Linked DNA regions of Homo sapiens: all the other regions are linked to region 5. Evidence: promoter capture Hi-C in 16 types of primary human blood cells and fetal thymus (Javierre and others, 2016). All regions are on one chromosome and are shown on one strand. Each heading gives the region's core, a stretch centred on a gene start or on the middle of the fragment in contact. The rest is flanking DNA. Distances are from core to core; before and after follow the strand shown. Region 1 overlaps SMC5-DT (SMC5 divergent transcript). Region 2 overlaps C9orf85 (chromosome 9 open reading frame 85). Region 3 has its middle 13 kb from the start of CEMIP2. Region 4 overlaps KLF9 (KLF transcription factor 9). Region 5 holds the start of NMRK1 (nicotinamide riboside kinase 1). Region 6 has its middle 49 kb from the start of CEMIP2.

The links. Contacts are between HindIII fragments. The CHiCAGO score rates a contact against its expected background, and 5 or more counts as called.
Region 1: a contact is called between a fragment that was not itself captured here and the fragment with the promoter of NMRK1 in region 5, in 1 of 17 cell types (total B cells). The highest score is 6.2, in total B cells.
Region 2: a fragment that was not itself captured here is called in contact with the fragment with the promoter of NMRK1 in region 5 in 1 of 17 cell types (M0 macrophages); the score reaches 5.7 in M0 macrophages.
Region 3: a contact is called between a fragment that was not itself captured here and the fragment with the promoter of NMRK1 in region 5, in 1 of 17 cell types (total B cells). The highest score is 5.3, in total B cells.
Region 4: a contact is called between a fragment that was not itself captured here and the fragment with the promoter of NMRK1 in region 5, in 1 of 17 cell types (total B cells). The highest score is 8.1, in total B cells.
Region 6: a fragment that was not itself captured here is called in contact with the fragment with the promoter of NMRK1 in region 5 in 1 of 17 cell types (non-activated CD4 T cells); the score reaches 5.2 in non-activated CD4 T cells.

The regions. Positions count from the first base shown.
Region 1 is chr9:70,253,918-70,258,167 of GRCh38, forward strand. It overlaps SMC5-DT (SMC5 divergent transcript), which reads right to left. Exons shown (of 4, transcript NR_039990.1): 2 at 3,998-4,018. Among named protein-coding and RNA genes, the nearest start is that of SMC5-DT, 2.8 kb to the right of the region's middle. The HindIII fragment of the contact is 844 bases long and covers 2,497-3,340 here.
Region 2 is chr9:71,913,552-71,918,109 of GRCh38, forward strand. The region is part of intron 1 of C9orf85 (chromosome 9 open reading frame 85); the gene reads left to right. Among named protein-coding and RNA genes, the nearest start is that of C9orf85, 4.2 kb to the left of the region's middle. The HindIII fragment of the contact is 236 bases long and covers 2,261-2,496 here.
Region 3 is chr9:71,779,438-71,784,246 of GRCh38, forward strand. No RefSeq gene overlaps it. Among named protein-coding and RNA genes, the nearest start is that of CEMIP2, 13 kb to the left of the region's middle. The HindIII fragment of the contact is 9,079 bases long and covers 1-4,809 here.
Region 4 is chr9:70,403,794-70,408,293 of GRCh38, forward strand. All of the region lies in intron 1 of KLF9 (KLF transcription factor 9), which reads right to left. LOC124900273 (a long non-coding RNA gene) reads right to left here. Exons shown (of 2, transcript XR_007061576.1): 2 at 1-4,500. Among named protein-coding and RNA genes, the nearest start is that of KLF9-DT, 8.1 kb to the right of the region's middle. The HindIII fragment of the contact is 1,420 bases long and covers 984-2,403 here.
Region 5 is chr9:75,086,905-75,091,218 of GRCh38, forward strand. NMRK1 (nicotinamide riboside kinase 1) reads right to left here and starts at 1,251. Exons shown (of 9, transcript NM_017881.3): 1 at 1,104-1,251. It overlaps OSTF1 (osteoclast stimulating factor 1), which reads left to right and starts at 1,610. Exons shown (of 10, transcript NM_012383.5): 1 at 1,610-1,822. The coding sequence starts at 1,789. RefSeq lists silencers at 1,121-1,720, 1,911-2,000. The HindIII fragment of the contact is 4,153 bases long and covers 1-3,535 here.
Region 6 is chr9:71,815,186-71,819,640 of GRCh38, forward strand. No RefSeq gene overlaps it. Among named protein-coding and RNA genes, the nearest start is that of CEMIP2, 49 kb to the left of the region's middle. The HindIII fragment of the contact is 938 bases long and covers 1,663-2,600 here.

The sequences.
Region 1 (4,250 bases), core at 1,669-4,168, 4.8 Mb before region 5:
AAATTAAAACAGTGTATTGTGATAGTGAGGTGAAATACATGCATAATCCTTGACCCTGCCCATTTCTGTCAACTTTTTATTTGTCAGTTTTTAAAGTTCCTGCAGAATTGGAAGGCTGTCACTCAAAATGGCCCTGGTTACTTACTCCTTGGTCAGTAGAAAGTTAAATACAATTGCTTTGCCATGTCTATTAGCTGATGTCTGACTAAGCTGATAAGTAGCATCGGCTCTATTGTGGCTCACTCATTAATTAGCATCAAATTCAGGTTGATATTCTATTTCCAAAAATCTCCCTCTGCCTTTTTAAAATCACCTCTTTCAAGATGGTTTGCAAAAGTGGAATTAAATAATCGAGATGTGGCAAGATAATGTGTATACTCTGATAGGTGCATGAAATTTTCAAAGTGTTAAAAAGCACTGAGCTAGTATAGTTTGCCAGAGAATCTTTGGTTATGCTAACTTCCAGTTATACAGAATCCAACAAATGAGAACTATTTAAATCAAGAATGGTACATTTGTTTAATGGAATACTATGTGATTACTTAAAACTATATCACAGAAAAAAAAACTATATCACAAAAAAAATTATGGCATGGAAAGTTATTCATAATATATTAAGTGGGGGACAGGGGTAAATATGGTATCTATAGAACAATTTGTGCAGAATCATCCTTTTTTAAAACAAAAGGCACAGACCATATGTACAAGTATACAAGAAAAAAAGATGCCAAAACATACACCAAAATTTTAACAATTAGTCTGGGTAGAGGAATTATAAGTTTTTCCTTTGCATGTGTTTGTTTTTCTGTGTGTTTTCCCAAATTTTCTGCATTTAACATGTGTTGCTATGGTAATCACAGCTAAAACCAGTAACATTTCCTTTTTAAAAGGATGGTGTTACAGCATGACTGAGTAGCTGTTTAAAACTTGTAGAGTGTCTACATTTGTGAAGTCATCACAAGTTCAGGGACTCATTCTAAAATTTCAAGTTTAGAAACACAATTTGATTAGTTCACTAAAGACTAATCACATAGAAGGAATACATTCTAATGTTTGATAGCACAGTAGAGTGACTATAGTTAACAATTATCTATTGTATTTTTCAAAATAGCTGGAAGACTTGAAAGGGACCCATCACATAGACATTATAAATACCCTAACTTAATCATTACATATCATACGCATGTAACAAAATTGCACATGTACCCCATTAATATGTACAAATATATATATATTCAAAAAATAATTTTTAAAAAGCTGAGGAGGAAAGAACAAATTTTAAAAAGCTGGAGGGGAAAGAACAAATTAAACTTTAACAGAAAGTTAATTACGAAGATAAGTAGAAATTATGAAATCAAAAGTCAACAAAAGCAAAAATCAAGTTGTTCCTTTAAAAAGATTAATAAAACATACGTAACCTCTACTAGATTAATAAATGAGAGGAAGAAATGAACAATTTACCAGTATCAAGTGAGAAAGAGGAAGCATCACTATAGATGCTGCAAACGTTAATGGATATTAACACATAACTTCATGTAATAAGTTTGACAACTTAGATGAAAAGGACAAATTACTTGAAAAGCACAACCTATTAAAACTGACTCAAGAAGACACAGAAAATCTGAAATTATTTAATCATGCTATTCACACAGCTACTTCAGAGGCTCCAAGTCTTATAATGTGGGGTTTCTTGGCTCCTTACCCCTCTCCTGGGGGATCTAGGAAATAAATGTTGCTATTGATTGCCAAAAAAGGGAAGAAAAAAAAGGACTGATCATTGTACAAAAATGATGACTAGCTCCCTGCCCTCAGCTCCCATTACTAATGTCTATAATTCTTATTTGTTCATCAGGGTAGATTCCCCTAAATGTAGTAACTTCATCAAACAATCTGACTTTTCTACAGCTCTTGAAGCAGAGCCTTTACTTTTCAAAAAATTCATGCTAGCAACTCAGGGAAGGACAGTATTGTGCCCTCCTGAGCACTGAGTTTTTTCGTTACTCACCGCCATTTGAACAGTTTAAAAATTATTCTTTATTTTTGTTGCAGTCTCACCAACGCACCTTAACGTAGCAGTTTCTCATTGTCTGAACTAGTACCCTGGGTTCTTTGTCCTCACGTCCAAGAAAATTAAGGAACGTGGACACAAAGGTGGGGTTGGAGCAAAAGTTTAATAAGTGAAAGAAAGAAAAGAAGCTCTCTGCATTAGAGAGGGGAGTCTGACTGGACTGCCAAGTTGTAGTAAAAACGTCAGGGTTTTTATAAATGGACTAGTGAGGAGGGGTGTCTTATCTTCCCAGGGCCTGAAGATTTAGTTGGGACCAGGTGTGCTATCGGCATAGAGCAGAGTTCCTAACAGCCTTTACCCAATTCCTTGATCACATAAGCAGGCTTTTAGTTTATGCTGCTCTGTGCTGCTTTGTGTCGCTTAAGTTTCTGTGTCTGTTCCCAGACATTTTCTTGCAGCTGCAGGCATCCCCCAACCCTCCCTGTATAAGCTTCTCGCTTCCGTATCTTAGTGGGCCTAAACGGAAAGGAATGTACTTATTAAGTCTCACAGTTTTTACTGGGGCCCATTGTATGAGTATGAAGTCGAGACTCTCCCACTCCTGTGCTTGTTTATCTGTGCTTAAAGCTGTCTATCTGTCCAGGTGCAACCTGAGGTTTTCCCAAGGTTGTTTTATTTTTTGCCTGTTGCTGTGACTTTTCAGGTAGGCTGCTGCTGCAGTCTGAATTTTTTCAATGATTTTTCCTTCCCGTCTCTCTCATTTTCATTTGCATTTAAGAAAATTTCCAGTAACTACGACAAGTTCACATGCTTTTTACTTACTCTATTTTCTCTGGAGCGGAGTCCTTGTGTGAGAGGAAGCAGCAGAGACCTGGGAAAGGAGCTTTGGTCTAGGAGTCAGGAATCAGGGATCTACTGCAATAGCTTTCTAAGTGGCCTTCCACTTCCACACTTGGTGCCCTCTAATCCATTTTCCACACAGCAACCAGAATTATTATTTAAAAACTTTAAGGCCAGGCACAGTGGCTCATGCCTGTAGTGCCAGCACTTCGGGACACCGAGGTGGGCGGATCACTTGAGGTCAGGAGTTACAGACCAGCCTGGCCAAAATGGTGAAACCTCGTCTCTACTAAAAATACAAAAATTAGCCAGGTGTGGTGGCATGCACCTGTAATCCCAGCTACTCGGGAGGCTGAGGCAGAAGAACCGCTTGAACGAGGGAGGCAGAGTTTGCAGTGAACTGAGGTGGCACTACTGCACTCCAGCCTGGGCGACTGGGTGAGACTCTGTCTCAAAAAAATCAAATAAAAAAAATCAAATAAAAAAATTAAAAGCTTTAGTCAGAACATGGCCCTCTCCTGCTTAAAACTTTGCAATGGCTTCCCATTGCTTTAAAAATAAAATTCAGGCTTTTCCACGATGGACAAGGTTCTGCTCTGCAACCTTGTTCACTGCTCTGCAGCAACACTGGCCTTCCCACCTCAGAGCTTTTGTCCTTACTGGTATGTTCCAGCAAAATTCTTTTGCCTGGGGTGCTCTTTTCTCAGATCGTCACAGTTTCTTCTCGTCCTTCAGAGTTTATCTTAAACACCACCACCTCTCTAAGAGGCCTTCCGTACCTCCCACCCATCAGGTTCATTTTGTTTTCTTCCTAACACCTGTCACAGTCTGACATTATGCTAATCATTTGTTGTGTCAGCCTTAAGTAGTGAAATTCAGAAAATATCATTAAGTATAGAGTTTATTCTAACGCAAAGCTTGAGGACAGCCACCTGGAAACACCAACTCCAAACAAATAGGGTCAATGTTCCAAAGTGAAGTTAAGGTTTCATTTACACAGGCAGAAACAGAGAAGGTTCAGCAGGAGTACATTTTCAATACAAGAGCAGTGCATAAATTACAGCGATTAGATTAGTTATAGATAGCTACATTCCAAGGAAGATAACTATATTAATTTATGAAGGGGGTAGTGATCTGAGGGGGTCTTACCTCTGTCTCTGTTTGGTCTTCCTGATTATAGGAAAAAACAAGGCAGACATTGCAGCTGTATGCCATGGGACTCAGGCCCCATCGCCACATTCTTCGCAAGGCTCAGAATAATTTAAAGTTCCAACAGCTTTAAGTTTGAATTATTTAATTTCACAGTTGATTCACTTGTTCTTTTCCTGTCTCCCACAATAGAAAATAAGCTCCCAGGGATGCAACCTTGGCAGGCTCCTAAACTGCCACGGCTCCAGTTTCT
Region 2 (4,558 bases), core at 1,129-3,628, 3.2 Mb before region 5:
AGCAACATTTGGGAAGACTTTCCCAAGTTTGCTCCCATTATCAATAGGTAAACCAGAATAAAAATAAAAAGCTGCACTATTCCAAATAGATGTCTGCGTCTTGTGTATTCTTACCCTAAGGTTGTGCACAAACATTTGCTTTTGATTGTTTTTCATGTCTGTTTTCGTAAAAAGCAGTTTTAATGAGTATTTAACTATAGTGTAGCTTCTCCTACTTGTACTTTTCATTGTGCATTTTCTTGGTGTTATCTAATAACTATGTCATTCTGGTCCTAAATGTTTTCCTGGGTCTCAGGTTCAGTCACTAAGTTGCATTTGACCATTTTTATCTTTTTATCTTTAATTCCTTTCCCTCTTTTAAGTTATGAAAAAGTCTCATTTGTTAATCAGGAGGACCACCAGGCCACTTCATTATTGAAGGTTCTGACAAAAACAACACAAAATATTTTACTGAGGAAAAATCATTCGGTTGATTGTTCATCTGTGTAATGAATAGCTAATAATTGTCTGTGATCATAACAGATTCTTGCATCTGCTATGAGTAGCCATCTAAAGCCAAGACTTTGTCAGAAGCATCTGATCCTAACTTTGTGCCTGTTCTTTACACTGGAAAGCTATTTGATCTGGTGACATCTAACAAAGGAGTGATAAAAAATGCACGGTTCTCTGTAACTCCCCATAAAGCAAGCTTGTCCAACACATGGTGCAGGGCGTCTTTGAATGCAACCCAACACAAATTCGTAAATTTTCTTAAAACATTATGAGATTTTTTTGTGATTTTTTTTTTTTTAAGCTCATCAGTTGTCATTAGTGTTAGTGTATTTTATGTGTGGCCCAAGACAATTCTTCCAGTATGGCCCAGAGAAGCCAAAAGATTGGACACCCCTGCCTTAGAGGACTGTAGTAACAATTGACTACTTGTATTAAATACTTTATGATTTGGTAGGGGTCCTACATGATAGTTTTTCTTTTCCTCCTCTGCCAAGCAGTTTGTTAGGACTCACTGCAATTAGAAGTTGGATAATTACAGATGTTTTATTGGAAGTTAATATAGGTAAAGCACTCATTCTCAAAAGGACACAGATGATAGCTTTCTTTATATGCTTGAATATACTCTAGAAAAGGAGAGTATATTCAAATTTTGTGCCATTTCAAATGGCCAAACTTGGACCAGGGAATCAAAGTAACAAAAATAGGTTTCAGCTCAATATGAGGGAATTATCTGACAGTGAAGGGGCTTGCGCCGGGATTTGTAACCTCCTCTTCCCTGGGGTTATTTAAAAGAGGTCCCTCTGGCCATTGGTCACCGGTACCCTCAAATGACTTATGGGGATTCAGAGGGTCGGCAGTGGGAATAGGTTTAAATCTTTTCTAGTCATTTAGTACTGAGATGTTGAGCAGATCAAGGCAGCCTTCTTTCCCTTACTGGAAAGGCAGTGATGTCCAACGAAAAGAGCACTGGACTAAGAGAAAAGAGCCATTCCTTAGCCCCAGTTCTGTCATTTGTTTTGCTTGATGATGTCAGGCAATTTACCTATAGCTTTTAATCTATGATACTGGGTTAGTACTATCTCTTGTCTTACTTTCCTCTGAGGATTGCTACAGAGATCATTACAAAAATTATTATTATTATTTTTTTTTTTTTTTTGAGACAGAGTCTCGCTCTCTCGCCCAGGCTGGAGTGCAGTGGCGTGATATGGATCACCACAACCTCCACCTCCTGGGTTCAAGTGATTCTCTTGTCTCAGCCTCCCAAGTAGCTGGGATTTCAGGGGCACACAACCATGCCTGGCTAATTTTTGTATTTTTAGTAGAGATGGGGTTTCACTATGTTGGCCAGGTTGGTCACTCCTGACCTCAAGCGATCTGCCCACCTTGGCCTCCCAAGGTGCTGGGATTACAGGTGTGAGCCACCGTACCCAGCTACAAAAATATTTTTAAGAAATAGGGATAAAAATAAGAACTAAGAATAAAGCCCATAATAATTTATGTGGCCCTGCAGTTGATCAAAGCCTAAAAAAATTAATTAGAAAAGAAATGCATGCTTGTTGAAGAATACTGAAACAATAGAGAAGTATATAAGGTACTGTATAAAAGTGAAAGTCTCTGTTCCCAGTTTTAGTCCTGTTCAGATATAGTCACTGTTAACACTTTGATGTGTACATTTCTAGATATGTCTGTATGATACAGTGCATATGTAATAAAATACATCTTTGCCCTTCTCATTCAGTAAAGTGGATGTGTCAGAACAGAAAGATTAAGCTTATTTTTTAAATGGCTGTGTAATATTATACAGCACAAATGTGGATTAGCTTATTTAACTACTTTCCTATTAATAAACATTGAGTTGTTTTCAGTTTTGCACTATGCCAAAAAGGCCGCAGTGAAATTCTGGTATTCCTGTCTGTATTCCACATGTGTTATCTGGTACCAAACATTGTGCTAGATATTGGAAGTATAGGGTTGAGCAAAATATACAGTCACAGTCTTAATTGAAGCTTGTGATTTGGTGGGAGAAGTGACAGGCATTAATCAAATAATCTTTCAAGTATGTTAATACTACAGCAGTAAGAGCTATGAAAGAACGGTCTAGGGAGCCCTGAGAGTATCTATAATAGCATGAAGTCTTGATTATGTTTGGAGGGTTAAGGAAAGCTCCCCAAAAATCAGAAGGATGAGTAACATTAAACTAAATGGAGGAGCATCTGTCATCCTTTTGAGGATGCTATTAATAATATATATATAGTCAGTATTGTTTTTAATAGCATTTCCCAAAATATATTTCTTAGAGCCCCAAGGTCATGTATCTTCTTCATAGGGCAGGAGAAAATTTCATGATCAAATCACTTTGGAAATACTGTATACTAGATCTCACTTTTAGAGGTGGGTCGTAGTATACATTGGAATAAATCAATGTTTTGCAGTTAAAAAATTATTCAACCAAAACTTGCTTGGCTATGGAACGCTTTGATTTACATAATACCTATTGAACTAATTTGTTGTGGAGCTCACTAATTTTAGGAAACTATAGTCTTCATCTTGAGATGGAGATGGAAAATGGAAGTCTATGGGTGTACTCTAAATAATTTTGGAAATATAGTTTTATTAATACAAGTTGAGTATTATTTATCTGAAATGCTTAGGACCAGAGTGTTCTGGATTTCAGATTTTTTCAGATTTTGGAATATTTACATTATATCAGTTTAGACTCTTTAATCCAAAATGTTCCAACAGGTATTTACTTTGAACATGATATAGGTGCTCAAAAAGTTTTAGATTTCAGATTTTTTGGATTAGGGATACTCAACCTGTTATAGCTAATATTTGTGTACTTAAGTGTATTAGGCACTATGTTTAGGCACTATGTATACTTGCTATACATTATCTATAATAATTTCATCTTCAAAGTAACCCTAAGATAGATGCAAAATGATCCCATTTTACATATTGGGAAATTAGGGCTTAGAGGTGAATGACATGCCCAGAGTTACATAATTAGCACATGCCTCTTCATTGGTTGGATGGGATCTGTGGGAGGACAATTCAAAGGGCAAGTAAATCAAAAGCCCTCCATGTGTATGTGTGATTTTAAAAAATATATGTACTGTATTTTTGGGTGTAATGGAAGCAGTGTGACACCAGATTAGGGTCAGAACAGAAATGAGTGTGGTTTATTGCCACCAATACTAAACATTGCTTGTTTGAAATGTTCTAGGGAGAGTCTTTCCTCATGAGGTGTGGCCCCTGGAGTATCACATGCCATACATGTGGGCTGGTTGGGGTGGATCTCATCTCATCAGCCTGGGCTCTGTAGCAGAGGCTCCTTTTGCTGAGTTAATGTGAAAGTAGATACTAATTTAGTCCATTTTCTTGGCTCCTGATTTAGGCAGAAAGCTGTCAAGTTTAAGATTAGTTATGATTGCATTTATACAGCAGAACAGGATTCTGTGTTTACACACACCTTTATTCACAGTTGTCAAAAATGGGGAAAACCTCCAAATATCTATCAACGGGAGAATATATATAAGCTGATTGTGGCAGAGGCATGCAATGGAATACTACTCTGCTATTTTAAAAAAAAGAAAAACTGATACAAGCAAAGCAGATGAATCTTGGAAACACTAATGTGGAGGGAAACAAACCAGATACAAAAGAGCATACTATGTGATTCCATCTATAGAGACCAGAAAGGCACAAGAAAACTTTCTGGAGTGGCAGGAGCAGTGAAGATTATAAGAGCAAATATATTAAAACTCATTAAATTGTACGTTTAAGGCCTATGCATGACATTGATATAAATTTTACCTCAGTCAAAAATAGGCAAACAAACAAACAAAGAAAACCAAGAAGGCTGGGCACAGTGGCTCATGCCTGTAATCACAGCACTTTGGGAGGCCAAGGCAGGCAGATCACTTGAGGTCAGGAGTTTGCAAACAGCCTGGCCAACATGGTAAAACCTCGTCTCTACTAAAAATACAAAAATTAGCCAGGCGTGGTGGTGGCCGCCTGTAATCCCAGCTATTTGGGAGGCTCAGGCAGGGGAACCACTTGAACCCAG
Region 3 (4,809 bases), core at 2,184-4,683, 3.3 Mb before region 5:
GTGTAGTGCACGCAATCTCGGCTCACTGAAACTTCTGCCCCCCAGGTTCAAGCGATTCTCGTGCCTCAGCCTCCTAAGTAGCTGGGATTACAGGCACATGCCACCACGCCCAGCTAATTTTTGTATTTTTAGTGGAGACAGGGTTTCACCATGCTGGCCACACTGGTCTCGAACTCCTGACCTCAAATGATTTGCCCACCTCGGCCTCCCAAAGTGCTGGGATTACAGGTGTGAGTCACTGTGCCCGGCCCCAGCCCGTCTTCTTAAATGGAGGTGATTTTGTCCTCCAGAGTATATTTAGCAATGTCTAGAGTCAGTTTTAATTTCACACTCTGGGGGAGGGATGCTGGCATCTAGTGAGTAGAGGCAAAGCATGCTGCTAAACATCCTTCAATGCACAGGATAAAGGACCATCTAGTCCAAAATGTCAAGAACCAAGGTCGAGAGACTCTGACCTAAACAAAGGATTTTGATAGGTGATTGTCAGTCTTCCACAGAGGTTATGCCAATGTGTTTTCCCAAGAGCAATATACGACAGTATCTATTTTCCTTGCCTCACCTGAGTGAATATAATCAGATATATACATCTCTAGAAATAAATATAGACAAATATCTATCTTTGTCATAGGAAAAAGTGATATAAGAACTTCAACATGTGTTTCTCCAGTAATAATTGAGGGAATCTCTTCACATTTACAAGAGTCATTTCTAGTTCCTTATCTATGACCTATCTGTTCATATTCTTTGCTCATTTTTCTGTATAGCTGTTGTTCTTTTTCTCATTGATTTGTAAAAGCTCTATATGTATTAAGAAAATTATCAGTTGGGCATGGTGGCTCACACCTGTAATCCCAGCACTTTGGGAGACCGAGGTGGGTGGATCACTTGAGGTCAGGAGTTCGAGACCAGCCTAGCTAACATGGTGAAACCTCGTCTCTACTAAAAATACAAAAATTAGCCAGGTGTGGTGGTGTGTGCCTGTAATCCCAGCAACTCAGGAGGCTGGGGCAGGAGAATCACTTGAACCCGGGAGGCAGAGGCTGCAGTGAGCCAAGATCGCACCACTGCACTCCAGCCTGGGCAACAGAGCAAGACTCTGTCTCAAAAAAAAAAAAAAAAAAAAAAGAAAGAAAGAAAGAAAGAAAATTATCCCTTTGTTTATGATTTAAGTTGAAACTATGCTTTCCCTGTTTAGCAGACAAATTTAGAGTGGTAAATAGCTAAAAACCAAACTATATCAAGAAAACCACACTTAAGTGAAAAGATACGTTTGTAAGCTGTGACTTGAAGCAGTGAAAGAAACATACAAATGATGTGTCGAGAAAAAATACTAACTAATATTTGCTGCCAATAACTGTACATTGGGATATAAAGAGAGCCAGAACATGTGAGGCGGGAGCTAAATGGACTGGATGCTGCAAACAGGGAACAAGGAAGCCCCATTTAAGGCCAGATATCCAGACTGTGAATCTGAGAGACTGAATTTCAAACTGTAGGTAATTATTTAAAATAGTAGCTGATACATACCACTGGTGAAAGATGAGACTCCAAGTTTGGACTTTAATTTACCTTTTACCTTTTGAACACTTGACTCTTCTCCCTCATTCAGCCCCTTCTAGTATAAAAATGACTTTCAACCAGTGTTCTCAAGCCATGCTGTCTCCGATCCAGTTTCAGCTGTATTACTTACTAGCTGTGTGACCTTGGACAAGTCACTTAACCTCTCTGTGCTTTCATTGTCTTCTCTGTAAAATAAGAATATTCATTACCTACCCCCACAGAGTGGTTACGCAGTAAATTAGTCAATCTGACCCATTTATAAGAATACATAGTACACGTTTGCATAGTTAAAGTTATTTAATGTTGTTAATGCACACTAATGCACAGACATGTTTACTCTGTTTCAGACAAGTAATACAATATCATCTGTTGGGTATAATTATCCTCATTTCACAGATAAGAAAACAGAGTCTCAGAAAAAGTAAATAAGACCTATTTTCTTTCATCATCTTTGGATCATCTGCAGTATTAAAGAAAATACTACTGTTACAAGGAGAGCCTGGAGAAAAAAAATCTTAGTCACACAGGAAACTGAAAAACCATCTTCAAATATATGAAGAGCTATTGTGGGGAGCACAAATTAACCTTTTGTTTCTGTTGCTTCAGAGGGCAGAAGTGATAGCAGTAGGTGGAAGATCAATCTATGCAAAATATGTTTCACTCTTTTGAAGAATTTGCTGTTTTCATTTCCCATTGTATCCCCAGTGTATAGCTCAGTGCTTGACATACTGAGATCTCAGCTCTCATTAGATATTCATTGAATAAATAAATGAATAAAGCCAATTATAAGAGCTATCCAAAATGAAACAGGCTGCTTCAGGAGCACTCCATCCTGGCCATGACCAAGAAGAGCCTAAGCCAAGCATCTGATGGAGGGTTCGAATAAATGCATATTGTATGCAGGAAGGGATGGTTCAAAAGGGCCTTGACAACATACAAAGTATTATAGAAACTAACAGTCATGGCCAGGCATGATGGCTCATGCCTGTAATCCTAACACTTTGGAAGGCCGAGGCAGGTCGCCCGAAGTTCAAAACCAGCCTGCCTGTGCAACATGGTGAAACCCCATCTCTACAAAAAATACGAGAATTTGCTTCACGTGGTGGCACACGCCTGTGGTCCCAGTTACTCAGGAGGCTGAAGTGGGAGGATCCCTTGACCCTGGGAAGTTGAGGCTACAGTAAGCCATGATAGTGCCACCGCACTCCAGCCTGGGTGACAGAGCAAGACCCTGTCTCAAAAAACAAAACAAACAAATAGATCACAATATCTATCATTTGATAACTTATTATGTGCCAACCACTGTGAAAAACTAAAGTCTCATTGGAAAATGACTACTATCTTCCAATATTTGAAGATGCTAGAGTCTAAAAAGCCCAAGTTCAAATCCTGACTCAACCATCTACTCATTGTTTGACTCTGGACAAATTTCCCAAATCCTCTGTGCTTCAGTTTTGCCACATGCAAATTGATAAAATGGGAATAAATAATTCCACAAGGTGACAAGAATGTAGCCAAAAATCTTCCACAAGGCCCAGTATATTTTTGGCAACACATTTCCTTCTTTCCCTATAATAATCACACACTATAAGGAGCTGTATCTGATTGTTGGAATTCACCAAAGATTAAATGTCTTGTTTTATGAGCTTGCTTCCTTGTAAAGGTAGCTTCATGAGCTTCACATCCCTGGATGTGTTTATGAAGAGATTGGACAGGTATATGCAAATAGCAACACTTATAGAATGCTTGCTATGAGCTAGGCACTGCTGTGTGTGTTTTACAGATAGATATTCATCCTGCCAATCCACACATTTTACAAATGAGGAAACTAAAAGCGACTAAGTAATTTGTGTAAGATTATATAGCCAGTAGGTGCCAGGAATGTGAACCAAGGGTGTCTTTGCTCTTAACCACTTCACCAACTGCATATAAGCAATAGTGACAAGGACATTCCACTATTTGTTGGGTGGGTGCTGGTGCCAATGACATCCCTTCCAGCACAGAGATCCATGGGCCCATAATCTCAGTACAGTGTGAACAGCTAAAGGGATTCAACTGTGACAGACTGAAAAACCAATGTAAAACAGGAGGCAAGAGATGCCCACACCTGGAGTGGCCAAAGGAGCAGAATGTTCCAAGCCTGGACAGCATATCACTGAGAGATGGAGATGCTCAGGCTGGGAAAAGCACTGGCGTGAGGAGGCGGGGCAGCCAGCCAGACATGTTTCCTACAGCTAGGCCCTAGGTGTCACCAGTGTGACAGGGCCACCAGTCATCCCTCCATTCTTTTGTACTTTCATTTACACATTTCATTTCGTGACAGGAAATAACACTGTCAGCAGCACAGTTGCTCACGGCATGTGCTGCAGGGGAGCTGACGCACGGAGGGTGGAAAGGGTGGAGGTGGGACAACGGGTGTTTGTGCCAGCATGTCATATACCGTCCTGACCTGCTGCATGCTCTTCCTTGCCCCGGGGCAGGTCTGGCAGCTGCTTACACAAGGCTCAAGTTGTTTGGAGTGGGGGAGGGAGAGGGGACCCACATCACCTATTTGCAGCTTTGCTTTTAAAAGTCGGTATCACCGATTTAGATTTGGGGTTTGGATTTTGAGGGGAACAAGAGGATTATTAGGTCCTAATATGACTTTTCTTCTCTTGCTCCCCTCTGCCTTCGGAAGTATCTAGATGTAATATCTCGTGCTAACCACAAGTTGAGAGTGGTAAAGTCATTCTGCTGGAGAAAATAGTAAAAATAATACTGACTTCCATGTTCATATTCAGTTTGTTTCTAGGAAAGACAAACATCAGTGGCGTTTAAATAAAAGATTTTTCAGCTGGGTGCAGTGGCACATGCCTGTAATCCCAGCTACTCGGGAGGCTGAGGCACAAGAATCACTAGAACCTGGCAGGTGGAGGTTGCAGTGAGCCAAGATCACACCACTGCACTGCAGCCTGGGTGACAGAGCGAGACTCTGTCTCAAAAATAAATAAATAAATAAGTAAAATATTTTTGTATGATTAGCCCATGTTATATATACTCAACCTTAGTCAAACTTTGTATTGACACCCTCTCCACCCTGCCACCACAGATTATTTGCTGGTCAAAAGAGGAAAATAGTTACAGGCCAGAGCAAGGAAGGGAACTGTTTCAGACCACGAGAGACTTAAAATGCACAATAATCAAGTACAACATGTAGTCTTTGACTGGATCTTTATCTGAGTGGATCAATGGAAGACACATTTGGGATCA
Region 4 (4,500 bases), core at 444-2,943, 4.7 Mb before region 5:
CTATGGAAAATACAGAGTAGGTATGGTCAGAGTCCAAGATTTCTGCTGACACTCCTAACCGAGGTTCATGAAAACCAACCATAAGCCAGAGTCAGAACAACAAGAGTAGACAGCTGAAGACTGGTGGCTCTGGGACCAAACCCAAGAGAACCACGTAAAACACAGGGTCTCTTCCCACTGGCGGAAACTCAAGGGGTCCAGATCAGCAAGCATTCATGCCCAACTCCACCCACCTAGAGACAGACTAGGAAAATTCCAGTGTAACCTTGAACTACGTTAACTAACTCCCAGTCTGATTCCTCCTATTAAATGAGAAGAACAGCACCTTTCTATCTCACAGGATTGCTGTGAGTTTAAATGTGACAATGCATGTAAACCATTTAGCTTGGAACCTGACATATAATAAATGTTAGAAATTGTCATTATTATCACTATTAGCCACAAAATCCAAAGTGCCTGGTACCAGCATTTTACACAGCTTTTTGCATGTAAGTCACTCAATAAATAATTTAAGTGAATGAGATGGCTGGGTGCAGTGGCTCATGCCTGTAATCCTAACACTCTGGGAGGCTGAGGCAGGCAAATGGTTTGAGCTCAGGAGTTTGAGACCAGCCTGGGCAACATAGTGAAACCCAGCCTCTACAAAAAATGGTGTGCATCTGTGGTCCCAGTTACTTGGGAGGCTGAGGTGGGAGGATTGCTTGAGTAGGGGGTAGGGGGAAGTAGGCGGGGAGAGTGCAGAGGTTGCAGTGAGCCAAGATCCTTCATGCCACTGCACTCCAGCCTCGGTGACAGAGTGAGACTCAGTCTCAAAATCATAATAATAATAATAATAAATAATTGAAGTGAATGAGGCAGTGCTGGACTAATCTGGAATTCTAAACAAAAATTCTAGGAATCAAGGGCTTCTGGAACACACACATAAATTCTTTATTTTTAATTATAATGGTGTGCTAAATGATTTAAACACCTCATCTGAATTAAGCTTCATAACAACTTCATAAATATATAATTACTGAGCTCCATTTTACAGATGAGAAACCTGAGGCTCAGAGAAGGTAAGTAGAGCCTGAGTTGTCATAAATAGAATGGTGGAGACAGGATTCAAAAACCCATGTCAGAAGGACCCAAAAGCCTGTGCTCTGACGACTCTATCTACTGTCTCTGTACTGAAGGTAAAGGCCCCCTCACATTCCAGTTCCTCAGTTTGACTGTTCAATATGAAATAGGTCAGGCCTTACTCTTCATTTCTAACTGCCTGTCTTATGAAAGCTAGCTCTCTGGAAGACAGAGATGGTGAAACATTTTCTTCTCCCTCTATTTCTTTGGGCCAAGATGATCTGTAATTTTGCTCCCGGTTCTAAAATGTCCAAAACTCCCAAGAGAGACTTTTGTGTTTTTGACCATTGCCTATTCCACTGGTTCCCACTTTGGTTCAAGTCAGGCCCTTTGGGAGATACTCCCTTCCACAAGGACGGAGGCTCAGCTTGGAAAAATGTTCAAACTTCATTGAATACATAACACCACTGACTGCATTTCAAATCCTTGTCACTAATTTTGTATGGCTTAAGCTCCCGTCTCTTACTTTAATCTATTTAAATAAATGTCCTCACTTTTTAAAAAGACTCAATCTGGCCAGTTAAGGATTGGCCTTTCTCCTGTTCAAATTCTCCTAGATTCCTTTCTCCTGTTCAAATTTGTGATCATTCTCAGTTTCATTAAAAAATAAACAAATTCAAAGGCCCAGCAGCAGCAGCTCTGGCTTAGATCGTGAGCAAACTGGTTCTCTCAGCTCTAGAACCTTTAGATTTCAGATCCAGGTTCTTCAATTCTCATCTCAGGATTCCAAAGTCAATTATACCACACTAGAAACTGAGATTAAAAGAGAAGGCTTCGGGCACACCATCAAAAAGGCTTTGGACACACATGGCAATGAATGGCCTTGGAAGGTCCCATGTATTTAAAAAAAAAATGGGTGCTTCTCACTCCCTCAGGGGGGATCACATTCTTATGAATAATAATGTTAGTCCTATTATTTGCTGAGGGGACTGCTTGACACTGGGATAAAACAAATGTTTACTCGTGGCCTTAATGCATCAAAAAGGTATTAAAGTTTCAGGACGATTCCAGGTAGGGAGTGGTAGGAAACCTCTCAGCAGCTCTGCCTTGGGCTGTTAAAGAGAGTGCTGCTCCCATAAAAAGGGCATAGGCCACCCCAGCTCACTCCACCTCTGCCCTTTCACTTGGTTAATTCCATGAAGCAGCCCTTTAAACTAAGGTGAAAAAGAAAAATGTTAACCATAGACTGAAGTCCCAGGAGAGCAAGTGGGGGGAAAGAATTCAAATGAAAGTACTGCAAAGAATTCAAAATGAAGGAAAAATTCCTAGGCACCCGCAGAGCCAAGCTTGAAGCTAGGGGCTTTAGCATTTTCTGCTGACAAATGCTTCCAACTACCTAGTACCCTCATGAGCTGGTGAGGCTCTGGGAGATTACACAGTATGACCACTCACATGCTAGTCAAGGCAGATAGGCAGCTTTTGAAACCTGGTGGTGTGCTTCAAAGCCCTTCAAGTCCCCCCAAAACATTTCAAGAGAACAATCCCCATCTCTCTGAGAAAGGGTGGGGATGTGCTTTCTTAAAGACAAAATGATGGATGTGATGACCTCCCAAGGTCACTTCCAACCTCCAAGTGCTATTCTTTTGATACTAACAACTGCTGCCACCAAGTGCTCTGAGTTAGGCCTAGGCCTGTGACTAACTTTCAACAAAAAGTGGGGCGGAGAAAGAGAGCCAGGATTGCTCAAAGACCACTGAAAGAGGATCTCACTTCTTTCCCTTTTTAACCATCTGTGGGGTTTTTTTCTTCGTCTTCCTTTTGCCCCTCCTTTCTGCGTGTGTTGCATAGAAACAGAAAGTGCCTTTGTACCAATTACTAGGCACTAATTTACGCTCTTCAGTGGGCGCTGGGCTTGCTGGAGAAACATTAGGAAAAGGTGGGAGGGTCGGATGTGGGGGAGGATTCTAGCAGTGGAGGAAGGAATGGCATGCTACAAGCTTTTTCTCCAAGCCTGAGAACAGCCAAAGGGAAAGAGAGAGAGAGAGAGAAAAAAAAAAAAAGAACACGGAAGATTTGGAAGTCAAGACTAACAAATGCGACAAAGCTTTTTTTTTTTTTAATGAAGAATGCTAATGATCATAAGGCATTCAGAAATCAAACTGATGGGATAGAAAGCAGGCTCCAACTAGAGCATGTCAGATTGTTTTAGGGGCTTCTGAAAGAGTGAAGACTGGGAAATCATCCGCCCACTTTTCTTCTCAATGAACTTACTAAGGAAAACCATTGTCAGCCATTTTCCCAATATGTCATATGATGTTTCTCCCTGGGAAGTTCAATCTGGGAATTTCCCACAGATGTTGCAGAATGACTAGTCCTTGGGATAAGCGTCAACAATTGAGACAGGAATGTAAATCTGACCCTCATGTTCAGAATCCAAGAATTCATTTCCCTGAATCCAAGAATTCATTTCCCTCAGCTTACATCTTTGTGTCTGAAGGTAATGGGGTGTCACCATCCAAGTGGCACTGTATTTACTCTGGTACCTCCCTCTCTCACCCAGGAACCCACTTATACCCCTCCCCTCTCTCTTCTCACCACGCACAGAAGATGTGAGAGGAAAATCAAGGGAAACAGTGTGCGTACTCTGTAATTTGACTCCACTTATGTTTTCTATCGTGAAACTGTAATCTTGCCAGCAGAAGATTCTCAGAGGCCCCCCGACTGTCTTTGCTAGGGCAGATAGATGGAGGATGACACAGGACAAATGGGAAATGAGGAAAGAAAGGCAACTGGGTGGCTCCTACCTTGTGACTAGCAATAAGAGCTATAGGGTCCTAACAGCCTCCAGCCCCAGGGTCAGATTTCTGCAGAGAGCTTGGGCTGGGGGCTGAAGAACAGTCTGGGCATCTTTCACTTGATTCAAGGGAGTTTTACCCTCTTGTCTAAAACCCAGAAACAAACCCTATAGCAAACCCTTGCAGCCTTAGAAACCCATCCTCTATAGCTAGAAGCCATGTGTATGCAGCCTTTTGCATAGATTGTTATTCTTCCCTAACAGGATACTTGATATCACTCCTATTGCTGAGTGGGGTGAGGCAGTATCATCTCCCAGGGGGCAAAAATTGGTTCTGTGACAGGTGAAAAAAGTCTTAGCTATTACAACGATTTGTCGCCTTCGGAATGGGGCATAGTCCATAAACAGCTCAAGTGTATCTGTGGAATTAAAATGTAATGGGGGAGGCCAGGCGCAGTGGCTCACACCTGTAATCCCAGAACTTTGTGAGGCCGAGGTGAGCAGATCACTTGAAGTCAGGAGTTCGAGACTAGCCCGGCCAACATGGTGAAACCCTGTCTCTACTAAAAATGCAAAAAATTAGCCGAGTGTGGTGGCACACACCCATAATCCCAGCTACTCTGGAGGCTGAGGCAGGAGGATCAGTA
Region 5 (4,314 bases), core at 1-2,500:
TGGGTTTTTTTTTTTTTTTTAAGACAGAGTCTCGCTCTGTTGCCAGGCTGGAGTGCAGTGGCGCAATCTCGGCTTACTGCAACCTCCGCCTTCTGGGTTCAAGTGATTCTCCTGCCCCAGCCTCCCGAGTAGCTGGGACTACAGGCGTCTGCCACCACGCCCGGCTAATTTTTTGCAGTTTTAGTAGAGATCGGGTTTCACCAGGTTGGCCAAGATGGTCTTGATCTCTTGACCTCGTGATCCACCCGCCTTGCCCTCCCAAAGTGCTGGGATTACAGACGTGAAGGGCTGGGGTTTTTGAAAACGCAATTCATGCCCCTCCCCCATTGGTTTCATTTATGTAGGTTCTTAGGTAAACAGTTTTTTCTTTCCCCAAATATACAATTAATTTACAATATTGACTGTTATTTTGAACTTATGCCATTGGCTTCCTTGTGTGCTCCAGTTCTTTCCTCCCACCGAAGATTCAATCCGATAGATCAGGGGTAGGAAAACTTTTTCTGTAAAGTGCCAGACAGGAAATGCTTTGGGCTTTGCCAGCTGCTACTCAACCCTGCTGGGTAATGCGAAAGCGGCCACAGAAAACACAGATGCAAATGAGCGTGACCGTGTTCCAGTAAAATTTTACGGACACTGAAATCGTAATTTCATGTAATTTTCACGTGTCACAAAGTATTATATTTCTTTTTATTTCTTTTCAGTCATTAAAAAAAGTAAAAAAAAAAAAAATTCTTAGCAGGCCTTACAGTAACAGGCAGCAGGCGGGCAGTAGGTCATCACCCCAACGCTAGAGGAATGAGACCATATCGATCCGCGAGGATCAAGTCCTGATCCTGTCCCTGGCGACTTCTCCAGGCTGCGCGGTCTCTTGGAGGCAGCGTTCCCATTTTCAGGATTATTCCGGGGCGCTAGAGCACCACGCCACCATGAGTACACGTCCTCCTCGGCAGGCCACCTATCAGCTCTGTGAGGGTGGCAAGAGTCCAGGCAAGGCTTTCAGGGCGCAACCAAGTCCCGGGCTCCAGCACAGAAACCCTCTGGAAACACCTCCAGGCCCCAGCAAGGCGGCGCGGCGCGGCAGGGGCGAGCAGGTACGCACTCACCTGGCGCCAGTTCGAGTCCTCCCAAACACAGCGGCAGAGGCGACAGCCAAGCGCGCGCCTGTACCCAGTGCGCCGCTACCCGCAGCTCGCTCCCCGAGAGGCCCACAGCCCCTTTCCCCACGCTCCTCCTGGGTTAGAGGGATGCCAGGTAGGGGCGGTCACCAGAGGCCCCTTTTCTCTACTCTCGGCGCCGGGTTCCAGCCCCCGTTGGGGCGGGGCGGGGCGGGGCGGGGCTCCGGCTAGCTTGGCCTCTTCCGCGCGCCCCTGCGCAGCTCCGGCCCTTCCCTATCGGGAGCGCGCGCGGCCCGCGGCACTGCACTGGCGCACGCCCGCTTCGCCCTCGCTCGGCTCCGGCTGGTTCCGCCGCCGTGCGCGCCGCCCGCGCTCCTGCTGCGGCGAAGCTGCCAGCCCGGGAGCCAATTAGCGCTCGGCTAGGCGGGGTCCACTTCCTCGTCGGCCCGGCGCGCGCTCTGGACTGCTCCGGCGGCCGCGGGGCGGGGCGGAGCACTCGGCGGAGCCGCTCTGCCTGCGTCCGCTCTTCCCGCAGCCAAGGGTGGGCGCCGGTCCTAGGAGGCGCACGGTTGTAAGCCAGACAAAAAGAACTGGGGTGCCCGGAGTGCCAGGTGGCGGGCAAGCGGTGGGCTTTTCGGCGGGGTCTTTAGGATTTGCAGCTCCAGGAAGCGAGATGTCGAAGCCGCCACCCAAACCAGTCAAACCAGGTGAGGGAGGTAAGGTAGGCGCTTGCCAGGTCCTGCGACCGCCGCGGTGCCGGCGCCTCCTCTGCAGCTTGGCAGGGAGGACCCGGCGCGCACCCGGCCCCGAGCCTGGCTTCCGAGATCGGCCCCACCGGGATGGGCGCTCTTAGTTTTGCGTTCGCTGTTACGGAGGAGGGATCGATTTTGATAGCAAGAGGATTTCGAGGATTAATATATATATATATATTTAAAGGGGAGTAGCCCTCACTTTTGCTACGTTGTCATTCGCTGAAACTTTCAGAGGGTGTGATGGCAACGTCCCATGGAAGTTTTCCGGAAAGACAGGGCCATTGATCTCCCTTTAAAAAATGTCATGAAATGATCTTTAGCCACTTCCTCTTTTCTCAGTGTTTGTCACTGTCAAGTTAGGGTTCCTGACCGGCCAGAGCGAACGGGAAGTGCAATCCCTGCAGGGTGGGGTGGGCGAGCGAGCCTCCCTCGGGACTTAAGCGTGGAGCAGCGTTTGAAATTGACCTCGGGATCTTGGGAAGAGCGTTTAGAAAAAAACCCTATACTCGCGCTCCTGGTGGAAAGAATCTAGGATGCGGCAGTGATCTCAGCTGTTGCTATTTGGAAGTGTCATTTTATCATCTCCTTTGCCTTTGCTCTCCCAAAGACGTTGGCGTGCTAAACCTGAGAGGGCTGAGATTACTAAATTCCTCAAAGCAGTTTTCTGGGCGGATTGTCCTTGTTCATTTTTGCTCTGTTCTTAGAATATTTTCTGTGATATGCAGAAATAAGATAATTGTAAAAGAAACTGACGTATTTTAATTAAAAGTTGTAACATACTGTTCCGCTCATTCATTTGGGTAGGTAATTAGAAAGGACTGACGTATTTCAATACTTTAACAACTCTTACGTGCATTCATTTGGGTAGGTAATTAAGGGAAATACAGGAAATGGAAGATAAATGGCTCCGATGTATTCTTGGGTTTTTTCTTCCCATAGTGTAATTTCGGTATAGCGAAATGCTGAAATTTAATCCATTTACGTCAAATTTTGAAGTAACTTTCTTTGCAAGAGATGAGTTTCAGTGATTACTTTTTTCCTTGATTTTCCTAAACTCTATAGCTTTCATACTTATCTAGTTTTGTTTCTTTGCGTTCCTGCAGTTGGAGTATGAAGTCCCTTTATTTGATAATCATGTACGTACGTATGTGGAATAGTGCTTCACTGAGGACTGACATCTTGGTGGGCTGAGTGTGAAGGAAGTTGCTGAGACTGGCTCTGCCCTGGGCAAAGATGGGGCACAGCTAGAGTTGGGTTCTGCATTGCATTAGATGTGGAATCTGATGAGAAATTTCCATTTTAAGTGCATATGTATGAGGTAGCTTTCTAAACTCAGGTGCAAATCAGGACCTTAAGTATCTAACAGTGCAGAGTTGTTCTTTGATAGCTAAACAATATTTTATTTATCTTATTTTTTTCTGATCACCTGCTGCCAGTTGAAATACGTTAAAGAATGCCCTTTTTAAAAATCTCTTCATGCGTATTAAATGCTGTCTATATTGCAAATGGAGGGACATTGACAGGTGTGTGTGTGTGTGTGTGTGTGTGTGTGTGTGTGTACACAGTAATGTATACATGTGGGTTCATTCACACTTGGGGGTTTAAGGGTCATCCTGTTACTAATTGTGGATACATTCCCAGGAACCTCCTTTCTCCTTCACATCAGAAAGCTTATGGTTAAACATGACAGGTGTTTAGAGGGAACTTTGCATTTTATTTTATTTTAATTTGTTTTATCTGGTCCTTGATTCAGGATAAAGGGAATTTTGAATCAACATTAATTTACAAATGAGATCCAGACACAAAGTTACCATAGAAATGGGTTTGCCAGTTTAGTAATTTACAGTGAGAAACATTACTGCCAATCAGAGTTGAAACTTTGTGTGGGCTAGCTTAGTTGAAGAAAAAAAAAAAGCGATGGCCAGGAGCAGTGGGCCATGCCTGTAATCCTAGCACTTTATGAGGCTGAGGTGGGAGGATTGCTTGAGGCTAGGAGTTTGAGACTAGCCTGGGCAACATAGCAAGACCCCGTCTCAACAGAGTACAAAAAACAAAAACAGAAATGTCCTATCGTAGTACTGTCCCACATTTACTGTGTGTTAGGCAATGGTATAGTCACTTTACACGTGTTAACACATTTGCTGCTCTCAACAATCTTATGAGATCAGTACCATTATATTGTTCCTGTTGCACAGATGGGGAAATAAAGATGCGCAGAAATGTTATTTAACTTGTCTAAAGTCAACAGTTAGAGTGGGGGATGTAGCAGGCAGTATTAAAACCCAGGTAGTCTGGCTTTGAAGTCTGCACTTTTTTTTTTTTTTTTTTTTTTGAGACAGACTCTCGCTCTGTTGCCCAGGCTGGAGTGCAGTGGCGCGATCTCGGCTCACTGCAACCTCCGCCTCTCGGGATCAAGCAATTCTCTGCCTCAGCCTCCCGAGCAGCTG
Region 6 (4,455 bases), core at 882-3,381, 3.3 Mb before region 5:
TTTATAGAGTATATCTGAAGGCCTCTTTCTCCCCAACTGCCCCGACACTTTCATTTGTCAATTTTGCAGACTTGAAGTGCAGCAAAGGAGTAAAGTTTTCAGAAAATCTGAAGAAAACAATAGATCAAGAATATCAGCCAGGCATGGTGGCTCACGCCTGAAATCTCAGCACTTTGGGAGGCCAAGGTGGGTGGATCATGAGGTCAGGAATTCAAGAGCAGCCTGGCCAACATGGTGAAACCCCGTCTCTAGTAAAAATACAAAAATTTGCTGGGTGTGGTGGCGGGTGCCTGTAATCCCAGCTACTCAGGAGGCTGAGGCAGAGAATTGCTTGAACCTGGGAGGTAGAGGTTGCAGATCGTGACACTGCACTCTAGCCTGGGAGACACAGCAAGACTCCATCTCAAAAAAAAAAAAAAATATATATATATATATATATATATATATATATATATATATCCAGGCACAGTGGCTCATGCCTGTAATCCCAGCACTTTGGGAGGCCAAGGTGTGCAGATCACTTGAGGCCAGGAGTTTGAGACTAGCCTGCCCAACATGGTGAAACCCCATCCCTACTAAAAATACAAAAATTAGCTCAGCTTGGTGGCAGGTGCCTGTAATCCCAGCTACTCGGGAGGCTGAGGCAGAGAGAATTACTTGAACCCGGGAAGTGGAGGTTGCAATGAGCCAAGATTGCACCACTGCACTCCATCCTGGGCGACAGAGTGAGACCCTGCCTCAAAAAAAAAAAAAAAAAAAAGAATATCTAGACATGGCTGCCAAGAAAAAGAACATGAACTCAAAGAGAAAATAAAATGGGTCTTTAAGAAAATAACAGCAAATCATTTAAAACATGAGTAAAGTTAGAGCATATGACCTGGAAGATTAACACAAAACAACTTTGGGTTACTCATGTGTACTAATGTCAGCTGTATCATTTCCCTATCACTGATAGGTATAGGAAACTGTACTGTGTTGGTAAAAAGCAGGTAAGAAAGGGGATGGCTGTCAGTAACTCAGCCCCGTATTACAGTAAAACTACTCCAGAAAACCTCTGGCTCAAAATACTGCAACGTACAACAGTGGGAACACAAAGTGACCAAAAAATATTGTTACAACTTTCCATTCCAGAAACATTTAGAGACGACCCACCATGAGATGACCTTGACCAGGCGTGGCTGAACATCTTCATTATAGCTACAGCAGAAACATCATGTGGTATTCTTAAGACAAATTTCAGGGCCCAAAGAAGCTATTCAGGATCCTGTTTTCCACTTGCTTCAATATATTTAAGCTCCTTGAACTATGACATCCTCCCAAATAGGTTCGCTGACTTCCTTCACTAAGGCACCCACCAAATATTTGTTGAGCGCTTACCATGGGTCAGGAACTGTTCAAGGCACTGGACATAGGGTGTTGAACAAGAAAGAAAGACATGATCCTTGCTGTCATGAAGCATTCATTTCAGAGTCATACTTCTTATGTTCACACACAAGTGAAGTGGTATTGGTATTTCAGAGTGAATGTGTTTTATAACCAATATTGATATTTTTCTTCTCTAGAGGCTCCCTTTATTTCTTAGTCACAAAACAAATATTTTTGAAAGATAGCAATGAAAACTTGGAACTTTTAGAAAAGCCATTTATTGCTAGAAATGGGCTAAGCTTACGTTTTCCTAAAATATCTGTAGAATGAAAACATAATCCAAAAAGGCACACATTCGCCAAGAGTGCAGCACGCTGGTCTTTGACTTACATAACTCTAAGGAAATAACTAGTTAGTTTCTGTTAATGTTTGATGAACTTTGACAAATTAGCACGAAGAATTAGATCAAATGAACTGTATGCACTGTCTGAACAAGAGGGATAAGCAAAAAAAAAAAATCCTCTCTAACAAGGAATGTTGGACTCAAGCATACTCTCCTAGAGGAGAAAACTGAGACTTCCTAGATGTAAAGCAACTGGCTCTAAAACACAGAATTAGAATAAAGGGAAGGAGGTCACTGGAGCGGCAAGGGTGGGGGTGAGCTTTACAACAAAGAATGATGATCACTAGATTTCAGCTCTGCGTCTATACGGGCTCACTTCCTTCACATGGGGAAACAAATAAAAATAAAAAAAATAGGGAGAGTAGCTAGGAGCCAAGGCTCAGCTGGGAACAACAGGAAGCAGCCGCGAGCTGAGTGCCATTGTGGCCACTTCAAATGGCAGAAGGTGAGAAACCAGCACAGCTGGCAACTAAAAATGAACTTGCAAACACGAGCGGGCAGAAATCAGGATTTCAGCCTTTGGGGATGCAACAGTGAATAAGACATGGGGCCTCTGTTCTGGAGAACTCTGAGATTAGAAGAAGAAATAGATGAATTACACAATGTGATAAAAGGGGAGAAGAGTCAAAATGAGGAACACAGTGAACCCGGGTAGGGAGGCAGATGATTAATTCAGTCCAATAACACAGGTATCATAGAGAAGGGATTATGCTGTGGGTATTGAAGTATAAACAGGACTTTTCCAGGTAGACAACTTGGAAAGACCACAGCATTTCAATTTGGAAAAGAGCAAGCTCACAGGTAATGAAGTAAAATCATGTATTATGGCTGAAGCTTAAACATCAAGGGGGAAAGAGAGTAGATAAATCTAGAGAAGTAGGTAAGGGCTTTGGATATTATTCTGAGGAAAGCCAGTGAAGCATTTTGTTTGTTTGTTTAACTTTGTTTTGAAAATAAATATAAGCGTACAGAAAAGTTGCCACAATAAAAAAGATTATACAACATACCTGTGTACCATTTATCTACTGTTAACATTTTGCCCCATTTTTCATTCCCCCTCTCTTTCTTTCCATATATATATATGTAATTTTTGAACCCTTTGAGAGTAAATCGCATACAGCCATTGAAGTGATTTCATTAGCGGGAGAACATGATCAGATTTGTGTTTTAGAACAGTCACTCTTATGGGAGTAGGGAGATCTTCAGGAATATATATCAGAGGCCTGGAACTAAACTAATGAGAAATCAAATGAAGGGTATGTCTGTGGGAATGGAGAGGAGAGAGTACATTCAAGAGAGAAATAAGTTTTGCCCATTGCATGTGGTCTCTGAGGGATGGGGTAAAAAGAGTGGAATCTGAGTTTTGGGACTGGGTAACTGAGTGGTGGAGACCCTGTCAAGACAGAGAATAATAAATACAACGTAAGAAAAATATGAATAGTTTATATCTATTGAATGCTAATTATATGCTAGGCACAGTTCCTAACACTTTAGGTCTATTAATCCATTTAATCCTCAAAACAATCCTAACAGGTTTGTTCTTTTATTAACTTCATTTTACAGATGATTTAAACAAAACATGTTTACAGAAAAAAAATTTTTTTAATTAAAAAACGTGTTTTGGCCAGGCGCAGTGGCTTACGCCTGTAATCACAGCACTTTGAGAGGCTGAGGCAGGCGGATAGCTTGAGGTCAGGAGTTTGAGACCAGCCTGGCCAACATGGTGAAACCCAGTGCCTACTAAAAGAACAAAAATTAGTTGGGCGTGGTGGCATGCACCTGTAATCCCAGCTACTCTGGAGACTGAGGCATGAGAATCACTTGAACCCAGAAGATGGAGGATGCAGTGAGCGGAGATCATGCCCCTCTACTTCAGCCTCTGTCTCCCAAAATAAACAAATAAATAAATATGCATGTTTTGAGGAAAAAAATGATAGAGTCATTTTTGGGGACGAAAAGTATAACCTACTCTTTCTAGAAGCTCCTCCAAAAAGATCAAGGGACATGTGGGGCCATGGGTCAAGGAATTGTCTTGGAAAATTTGGAACATTTAAGTTTCATTCACATCAGGATATAGCTTGCCATGCTCCAAACCTCCAACTTTAGCTTAAATACTGAAGATTACATTCATTTAATACGTCATTTTATGTCTATAATGCTGGCGATTATGTACACATTATATTAATATAACTTTAGCTCACCCAGCAAATAATTAAACCTAAAATACCAAAGAGATGCTTTCAATCAGACATTTCTTTCAAATGAGATAAAACAAAATTAGATGTGGAAATAGGAAATCAATTTTATTTCTATTTTAATTTTCAAAAGGATTTTAAAAATCACTGAGAAGAAAAGCAGCATCTTCTGGGCGCCCCCTTGTGGCTTGGATTAATGATTCCCAAATTTGTCTAATGGACAGAAATTACCTGGAGAACTTCATGAAAATAGTTTCCAAGGCTGCATCCACAAATAATCAGAACAGAGTAGAAAGAGATCCATATTTTTGAAAGCTCTCCAAAGAGATTTTGATGACCAGCCACTGTGAAAACCTGCAGCTTAAAAATTCTTTTTTTTTTTTTTTTTTTTGAAACAACTTCAGAGCCGGGCGCAGTGGCTCACACCTGTAATCCCAGCACTTGGGGAGGCCAAGGCAGGCAGATCACAAGGTCAGGAGATACAGACCATCC